Linked DNA regions of Homo sapiens: region 2 is linked to region 1. The links are contacts of gene promoters, found by promoter capture Hi-C in human tissues and cell types (Jung and others, 2019). All regions are on one chromosome and are shown on one strand. The core of a region is centred on a gene start or on the middle of the fragment in contact, and the rest is flanking DNA. Distances in the headings are between cores, read along the strand shown.

Evidence for each region. The method cuts DNA at HindIII sites, captures the fragments that hold promoters and counts their contacts. A contact is called where the count stands out against the background at its distance.
Region 2: the fragment with the promoter of LACRT here is called in contact with the fragment with the promoter of NCKAP1L in region 1 in 2 of the 25 tissues and cell types used here (mesendoderm cells and psoas muscle).

The regions. Positions count from the first base shown.
Region 1 is chr12:54,494,907-54,499,872 of GRCh38, reverse strand. NCKAP1L (NCK associated protein 1 like) reads right to left here and starts at 2,121. Exons shown (of 31, transcript NM_005337.5): 1 at 1,982-2,121; 2 at 408-518. The coding sequence starts at 2,083. RefSeq lists enhancers at 1,930-1,989, 2,100-2,159. The HindIII fragment of the contact is 19,249 bases long and covers 1-4,966 here.
Region 2 is chr12:54,631,890-54,636,855 of GRCh38, reverse strand. LACRT (lacritin) reads left to right here and starts at 1,961. Exons shown (of 5, transcript NM_033277.2): 1 at 1,961-2,072; 2 at 3,623-3,676; 3 at 4,475-4,615. The coding sequence starts at 2,015. The HindIII fragment of the contact is 5,914 bases long and covers 1-4,966 here.

The DNA.
Region 1 (4,966 bases), core at 872-3,371:
GTTAACATTTAATAAGGGAAAAGTAGAGATATCCCATTAGATGCAGAAATCTAAGACAAACAGCAAGGAAACAGTGAGTGGGAAACAGAAACAATAAAATACATGTACCCTGCTGGGTTGATAGAGCTGTCTTGTACAAAAACAATGTTTTCCCATGAATCTTGCAATGGAAAAGGGGTGATGATTCGCTCCAGCTTATGCTGGAAGAATCCCATCTTATCTCAAAATGCTCAAGACTTAAAGCTCTACAACAACCTGAAGCCCTGTGGTTGAGCCTTGGAAAACTATTAATAAAAAAAGACTACTCCATCCCCTGCCAAGTTTGAAGAGAGGCATCAAAAGAGGAGAATTTCAGCCATTCAAGCAGAGAATTATTCAGAGAAAGGAGAGAAGGACCAAGTTCTCACCGTGCTGTTTCGGACATCTATGTTGGGAAATTTCTTGTTGATATACTTGAGAGATGGTTCCATGGACTTTTCCAGTAAGAAAGGTGGCTTAGATTTGGGGTCTGAACAAGTCTGCAGAGAGAAACCATATATATTTCAACCCTTTCTCCTCCTCCTCAGAAACATACCTCTTCTTGCAACATTCATTCTCATAATCTGTCTTAGGAAAAGGCAACCTGGGAACTAATTTAAAAAGCATGAGAGGCTGGGCGCAGCGGCTCACACCTGTAATCCCAGCACTTCGGGAGGCCGAGGCAGGCAGATCACAAGGTCAGAAGTTCGAGACCAGCCTGGCCAACATGGTGAAACCCCGTCTCTACTAAAAATACAAAAATTAGCTGGGCATGGTGGTGCACAACTGTAGTCCCAGGTACTTGGGAGGCTGAGGCAGGAGAATCGCTTGAACCCGGGAGGCGGAGGTTGCAGTGAGCCAAGATCGTGCCACTGCACTCCAGCCTGGGCGACAGAGCGAGACTCCGAAAATAAATAAATAAATAAATAAATAAATAAATATAAAAATAAAAAGCATAAGAGTAGGTCAAGAAAAAATTCCAAGACATTAAGCCAAGTATCTAAGAGCGAAATAACAACCTAGGCATTTTGTCTTGATGGGTAGAGTTTAATGCCTGCTTGGCCCCAGCACAAAGAGGAAGCTGTTTCCCCGCCCCTCAACTGAAGCCGGAAGGAACAAGAAAAGCAGCTGCTCAGGAGTTAGACTTTGTACAAGATTCAGTGTCACAATTTTGTTCACTATGTAAGTATCTTATCCCAAAGGGCATTTACAGGATTCATGGTGACAGAGAAACCGTGTTCCTGGTGATTTGTTTTATTACAAAAAACACAAAAGCTCCCTCCCCCAAAGTCCCCTATTTTCTATGCCAGGAACTCCCCATAAACACCCCTGTCTTTATCTCTTTACTTCCTATGGTTTGCCCAGCCCCTAGCCCACCTCTTGTCACTAGCTTCTTTCAATTCCTCAGTTCCTATTCTAAACACACACACACACACACACACACACACACACACAACCACCACAGCATGAACTACCCCAGGAGCAGCTCAGAAGACACCTACCCTTTTTAATCTAAATACCTAATTATCTATTTTTTTTCCTTTTAGGGAAGCACTTCCACAGAAAAGTTTTTGCCAGAGACCCAGCTTCAGATCTCTTCAGAGTGTAGAGGATCAACAATAAATAATAAAACCCAGAAGGTTGGACCCCAGACCTTTATCCAAGTCACTTGGAATACCACTGTTGTTTCCCCATCCCCACCCTCACCCCCATCCCCAGAGGAAAGCAGATGCCATCGTTGGGGCAAGAATCATATCTAGAAAGGGGAAGCCTTGAAAAGAAGCCTCCACTTCTGCCTTCCTGAACTGGCTGGCCTGTATAATCTGAGTGATTATGTAGATTATAGTCAGTGGAAAAGCAGTGGAAAAAAAGGTGGGAGTCTAACTGCTGCACCTGCCGCCTCAGGGTTCCCTGCCCTATTATTGTTGGAATAATCAGTACTAGTCCCATTGTTCATGCTTACCTTCTTGATGTTATACATACGGATGAGAACCCCCTGACCGCGATCATTCAGGATAGTGAGCTTCTCTGCTAATTTATGCTGGTAAGCAGATGTCAAAGACATGATGGCCACTGAGAGAGGAGCACCAGACAGCAATGTCTGATCTCCCCAAACACTTTCAGCTTAGATGGTGACACCCTCTGGCGGAGGGACCCAGCCTGGTTGGTGCACTGGTCTTCTGTTGCCTCTGCAATTGGCTCATGGGTGAAATCAGTCATTATGGCTCACAGGCCCTCAGAGCCTTCTTGTGCTTCCTCTTGCACACTCAGCAGGGGAGACTTCCTCTTTCTGGCTGTGCAGCACTTTTGGTAAGGCTATGAAGTGGGTGGAGCTGAGGAGAAGGACAGGCTTTCAAGGCTCTTCACAGACTGCACCAACCTTTTTGGTCTTATGCCCCCATAAGTGTCCTAGACAAAGCTGGGCGTGGTGGCTCACACCTGTAATCCCAGCACTTTGGGAGGAAAAGGTGGGAAGATCCATTGAGCTCAGGAGTTCCAGACCAGCCTGGGCAACATAGCAAGACCCCATCTCTATAAAAAATAAAAATTAAAAGCTGTAAGCTAGATAAACAAGTATCTACCACCCCACCCCTGTACACCTCTATATTTTCCTTCTTTTATATCCAAGAATGCCTATGAACCTTTGGCCTCATCATGTTTTAGTACCCAGATCAAATCCCATCTTCTCCTAAAGACCCCATCAATGTCAAATATTATATTGTATTATATTTTATATTGTCAAATACATATATTCCTTGTTATATGTTTATAGTGTACGTTGTATCTCCCCCAACTACAGCATAAGCTCCTTAATGACAGGAATTGTACCTAATACTTTTTTTTCTTTTTTTTTTTTTTTTTGAAACAGAGTTCCACTCTTGTTGCCCAGGCTGGAGTGCAATGGCATGATCTCTGCTCACTACAACCTCCACCTCCTGGGCTCAAGCAATTCTCCAGCCTCAGCCTCTGGAGTAGCTGTGGTTACAGGTGCCCACCACCACGCCTTGCTAATTTTTGTATTTTTAGTAGACATGGGGTTTCACCGTGTTGGCCAGGCTGCTCTCGAACTCCTGACCTCAGGTGATTTACCCGCCACAGCCTCCCAAAGTACTGGAATTACAGGCATGAGCCACCACACCCGGCCTCTAATACTTTTTTATATTTCTCACAATGCTCTACTACAGTGCATTGTACTTCTACAGTACATAATAATTCTCAAAGTAGTTCTCAAGAAGTACATAGTAATTCTCAAAATGTGATCCAGCAGCATCAGCATCACCTGGAAACTTGTTAGAGATGCAAATTCTTAGGACCCGCCCCAGACCACTGAATCCAAAATTCTGGGGTGGGTCCAGGCACTCTGTGTTTTAACAAACCCTCCAGGTGATTCCAATGCACACTCAAGTTTGAGAACCAGTGCTCTAGTACCATGGTATTTATGGATGCTTGAGAAACAGATCAATCCCTGTCCTCTGAGATTAGCATTGGTAGGTAGGCGAGTCTGTTGTGGGGCCTAGAAGTCTGTACTTATATAAGCACTGTTGTAGGAGGTTTTGGTACAAATATTCCATTCTGAAAAACACTGATCTAGAACAATACCTCTTGGACACAGTAGTCACTCAATAAATATGCTGGTTTATTTGTTGAATTATTAAGACTAAATTAGGAAATAGGCCCCATGAAGAAGAACCAAATTAATCAAGATTAAAAAGAGGAAATTAGTAATCACCCTTAAATCTTAGAGACTTGAATGAATTTTAGCATTAAAATATTCTTGCCATTCCAATGAGGCCTTAACTCCGTAACTCAAGAAAATTTTCAACTCTATTTCAACTTTCTTTCAAGACACAAAGCAAAAGGTCCTAGGAAAAATTATAAATCAAAAAGAGTTCTCTTCATTTCCACCACCTTGCCAATTCCTTTTCTCAGGTTTTTAATCATTCCCATTTTCCGTATCCAGAGTTCCCATTGTCCCAATAAATTCTAGGGAGTGGGAGAAGAGAGACAAGGCTGATCAGCATTATTACTTAAGAAGTTGGGGCCAGGTGAAGTGGCTCATGCTTATAATCCCAGCACTTTGGGAGGCAAAGGTAGAAGGATTGCTTGAAGCCAGGAGTTCAAGACCAGCCTAGGCAACATTGTGAGACCTTCCCCCACCCCTCTACAGATAAAATAAAATAAATTAGCCTGGTGTGGTGGTACATGGCTGTAGGCCCAGCTCCTCAGGAGGCTGAGGTGGGATGGTCGCTTGAGCCCAGGAGTTCAACACCGCACTCCAGCCTGGTCGATAGAGCAAGACTATGTCTCTAAATAAATAAATAAATAAATAAATAAATAAATAAAGGCAAGAAAGAAAAAAAAACTTGAGTACTGTGTTCACTATTTGGGCATGGGTGATGGGTTCATTAGAAGCCCAAATCTCAGCATCACACAATATACCCATGTAACAAACCTGCATGTGTATCCCCTGAATCTAAATGTTTTTTAATTTTAAAAAGAAACTTAACATCCATGCTCCAAAGAGAATGTATTTTTAAAAGAAGCAGCAAGATGGCAACACTTAACGCATGAAATTTCAAATATCTCTAAGGTAGAATTTGCATTTTAGGAATATAGAATCTGCCTTCCATTTTATTTACTAGACTGGGTCCCTAGAAAGCTATGGGCTCGAGGTAATGTGATATTGGTCATGAAGATTTGAATTACCTGCTGTTATCAAAGAAACCCAGGTTTTACTAAAGCAATTTGTAGGATTTCTACTGGTCTTTTACCTTTACCAAGGAGAATATGGAGCAGACAGTAAGAGGCCAACATCCAGGAAGCTTAGCAGCAGCATAGCACCGGTCTTCGTGGGGTTAGTGTAATTCTAGCGGCTCTTTCTTGCATTCCTTTTTTTTTTTTTTTTTTTTTTCCTGAGACAAGCTCTCGCTCTGTTGCCCAGGCTTGA
Region 2 (4,966 bases), core at 712-3,211, 140 kb before region 1:
GAGGTCCGTCAAGACATTGCACAGAGCAGCCTCTCACCCATATCCATGAGGTCTGCCTCTTTAATCTATGCACCCAATTCTTTCCCAGGCTCTATAATTTGGGGTAACATTTCTCTGGGCCCTGTTATAGAATAATGAAAATTTTCTATAAAACAAATGTCCTTACTTTCACCTCATCCCTATTTATGTAAATGCTTGCCTCTTTAATTACTGAGGCCAGGAGGAAGATTTGGGAGAGGAAAGGGCTATGCGGTGACATTTGGAAAGACCCTGCTCTGTGACAGTTCTAGTGTTGACGCCAAAGTTCTCATTTCCTCTTAGAAAAGTCTTGTGCAAATAGCATAATTTGCTCCTGTTGACTTTTTTAATGTGCTCATGGAGACTGCTCGGGATCTAGATCTGTTTGGGATCTGCAGGACTTCTCCTTCTGCAGTGTACACACACGTGCACACACGTATGTGCACATACCCAGGGCACTGGTGCCATCAAAACTTTCTCTTGTTCTTCAGCCTTCCCCATTCCAGGTAAGGCCACCACCACCTTCAAGGCTCCCAGGCCCAGACCCTCAGGCAGGTAGCAATTGCCAAGGCTTTAATGTCCCACCCCATTAATTTTATCTTCCTTTATCTCCTGAAAAGATTAATGTTCTAAACCCTGGCACCCAAAACACCCTCATGTTGAAAACTCTTCAATACCCCCTTCTCACACTCATCTTCAGAGCTACCATGAGGCAGAGAAGCCTCCGGAATCAGCCCACATGGGGCTGGGTGAATGCCAACACCAAGCAAGGGGAAAGTCACAAATTGACATCCAGCACCTTATTCTCCACCCTTCAGCCCCTCAACTGACTCCTGCTCCACGGCCCGTTCTATTAATATCTAGCATTTAGCACCAGCCTGGACAAAAACCTACTTGGAAAGATGGTACAAGAACCCCACACAACTCCATAGAACTTCGCTGTCTAAAAAAATGCTTTGCCGTATATTATCCCACTTAATCTCCACCACTATGCTGTACATAGGAGCCACAACTCCTAGACAACAAATAAAAATCCTATCACTTTTCAAATCCTAACATTTTCATATGACAAAGCCAGAACTCAAAATCCAGACCTCTAGAGTCCCAGATCAGGAAAGGAAGAAACGCCAAGTCAAAGAGAAGCTTCTTTAGAATAATCTGCTTTTCTGGATTATTCACACCATGGGTCAGCTCCCCACTTGAAGTCAGAACCAAGCTCCAATTTCAGTGAACCACCATCATGCTTTGACCAGGAGATTCTCTCAGAAATGTGGGGTCCCATTGAGTAGGCCTGAAGACAGAGATTGACAGGCCTATGTGAGCCTGGAGGAGTTCTTTTTAGGGGCTGGATAATGTCAAGAACAGAGAACAACTCCAGAGAAGGCACACACGCCTTCAAACCCATCCCCTCATGGGGAGAAAGCAGCCAGGAACTCAGGCCTCAAGTGTTCTAGGTGTGGTCTCCCAAGGAAACGGGCTCACTTAGTTTGGGGAAACCTTCAAACCCTGCACTGAGTCCTATGTAGACTGGGACAGAAGGTGGACAATGTAATCCCCTGAGCCCTCAACCTCCTCCTGGAGAGATGACAAGATTAAGATTTCTCTACCAGAACCCTCAACAGACACATCCCAGAATCTCCCCAAGTGAAATGTGCTCTACCTACCGTCCCTGAGAGCCCAGGGGTGTGAACCCAGAGGGCAGGTGTGGTGGGGAAGGGAGGAGGGAGAAAGAAAAGGGATGGCTGGGAGTTAGAGAAAGGCTCCTATCCAGGACCTGCCTGCAAGGATCCCAGGTATCAGCCAGCCCAACCTAGCCCTTGTTGACTTAGCAGGTGACAGTTTGGGGAAGAAGGGGAGGAGGATGCGGAAGTCACACCTCTCCAGGCTTGGTTCCCATTGGCCCTTGATATCCTTAAAAGGGCCCAGCAATTTCAGCATCCTTATTCCCCAGACCTTCTGCAGATTCTGTGGTTATACTCACTCCTCATCCCAAAGAATGAAATTTACCACTCTCCTCTTCTTGGCAGCTGTAGCAGGGGCCCTGGTCTATGCTGGTGAGTATGGCCTTTCCTCTGCGCCCCACAAGAGTCCTCCCAGTCCAAGGAGCCCCTCACTCCTGCCTTCACCCCTCTCCTCCTCTCTCAGTGCTATTCTGGTTTCCCTGCCTCTGCAAGTGACTCCTCTCCCAGTTCTCCACACGTGGCCTCTGCACCCCACTGGCCAGAGGAACCCAGAACTCTCTGGCCTCTGCCTGCCCTCCCAGCTCATCTCCTCACACACCATTGTTTACCCACTATGCCTCAGCTACACTGGCTTCTCTGGTGTCCCCTGCATGTAGTTGAGCAGGGTGTCCCCTACACGAGGGTGCCCAGGCAAGGAGTGGTAGAAGCTAAAATCTGGCCGACACTCTACTTGCCAAGCAGTGAGCCTGGCCCCTGGCTGTGTCTCTTAGGAGGAAGGGATGCCTTTTTTTTTTTTTTTTTTTTGAGACCGAGTCTCCCTCTGTTGCCCAGGCTGGAGTGCAGTGGCACGATCTCTGCTCACTGCAACATCCACCTCCTGGGTTCCAGCGATTATCTTGCCTCAGCCTCCTGGGTAGCTGGGACTACAGGCTCATGCCACCTTGCCCAGCTAATTTTGTATTTTTAGTAGAGACGGTGTTTCACCATGTTGGCCAGGTTGGTCTCGAACTCCTGACCTCAGGTGATCCGACTGCCTTGGCCTCCCAAAGTGTTGGAATTACAGGCGTGAGCCACCGTGCCCTGCTGGGATGCCTTTTTTGATCCACAGAAGCACTATTTGGGCCATGATGATCCTGCTGTTCCTTGAACATCAGGATCTTCCTTCTTGTCCTTTCCTCGTCTAGAATGCTTTCCCTCTCCCTGGCCCCTTCCCCCAACCAACTCTAATGTCACCTGGCCAATGATTTTTCATCTAGAAAATCTCAGTTTACATATAATTCCCCAAAAAGGCCTTCCATGCACATGCGGAACAAATCAGATCCATGTGCCCTTCTCGCACCAGGCTGCACGTTCCCTTCCAGCACTGTCACACCAGCCATTAAATAATTTCGTAAAAGGACAGATGTAAGCTCTGTCAGGGCAGGGGTCTTGTCTGCCCTCTTCAGCACTGCACCTCCATCTCTTGGCACAGAGCTTTGCATAAATGTTGTGTTGAAAGAATAAAGGGAATCAAGGCTGGGGTCTCAATCCTGCAAATCGCTCAAATATGGCCCCATAACCCCCACATACTGTCCTCCTCCACCACAGAGGAGGTTGAGCCCCTCTGACCATGGCCAGCTCCATGACAGACACCTCAGGGAAGCCTACCAAGCCAGGGGCCAGTCAGGAGGAAGGCACTGTTCCAAGAGACATTACACTTCTCAGAGGGGAAGTTATTTCAAAAGCCACAGGAGTTAAACATCAGAGAGTGCCCCAGTAGACCCGCTGATATGGTGGAAGGGCATGTCCAACCCAAAGGGAAATTGATCCCCTTCTATCCATGAGCATTCCCAGGAGATAAGCTTTGGGAATGGGAGGGGAGGGTGGCTCGAGTAGGTCCGGTTCGGTCCTTGCTCTCATCTGGCATGTTTCCCCCATTGCAGAAGATGCCTCCTCTGACTCGACGGGTGCTGATCCTGCCCAGGAAGCTGGGACCTGTGAGTCCTCCTCTCCCTGCTGCCCTAGCCCTCGTTGGGAAGGTTTAACAGTTAGGGATGTGAGTGGTGGCTGGGAGAAGAAGCCAGTGGGAGGAGATCTGGATTCTGTGCTTGGTGGTAATGGGGAGGGGCAGGTAATATAATAAAGAAGGTGGCATGGGTTGAAATGGTACAAGGCTAAGGACAAAAGAGGATGACCCAGAGAGGCAAGGACAATAGGGAGCATGGGGAAAAGGTTATTGTGAATAAAAGGGAGAGAAACATGAGGTTAAGTGGTAAGGGCAATGTCTCACATGGCATTAATACCTTCACCTGCAAACACCTCCCATTACTCCCAATTCCTTAGCAAGATAACCATTATCTGGCCTCTAACCTCATTTTCCAACCCCATTTTCCATGACTCTCTTTTATGTCGCACCCACATCAGCTAAATTGAACTTGTTTCCATTCCCCACACATGCCTTCGCCTGACCTCTTACTCACTGCCTGCCCCCAGGGAAGCCCCTTTGGTACATCCTCTCCTGCTAACATCCTGCCTTCAAGATCCAGCTTCTCTATGAAGTGCTCCCCGATTCTCACCATCCCCTAGTCCAAATCCTTCCCCAACCCTGCCCGCTGCATTCCAAGAGACACACAGCATGCAGAAATGCTATCTCCCTTAAGGGGGCAGCGTTTAAGCCATATCACTTCTGTATCCTGGCACCCAGCACACATTAGGTATCCTGGGGCCCTGCAACCCATTCCAAAAGAAACAAACACTTTCACTTTGCTAAAATCCATCAATTTGTGCATTCACAGCTAAGCCTAATGAAGAGATCTCAGGTCCAGCAGAACCAGCTTCACCCCCAGAGACAACCACAACAGCCCAGGAGACTTCGGCGGCAGCAGTTCAGGGGACAGCCAAGGTCACCTCAAGCAGGCAGGAACTAAACCCCCTGAGTAAGTCTCTGTCTCTATGCCAGATCAACAACCTAGAAAAGTCTCTGGCTGCAGGCCCACATCACACCTCCACGCACAGAGATAAGCCTGGTGAGAAGCAGGTAGACTCAAACAGCTGAACACAAAGGCACAAATGGGATTGTGCATTGCACCCACACACAACGTTTTCACAATAGTAGATGTTGCAGCCTGCACAATACATGGTTTCTGTCCTGGCTCACACAACTTCCTATGAGAGAAGTGCTGGAGCCCTCAGCAAAACTTCTGCACTTTAGGACTTTCTGTAGGGATGATGTCCTGGGTGGAGTGGGGGTGGGGGGCGGGTGCAGGTGGGGCAATGCAGAGTTCTCT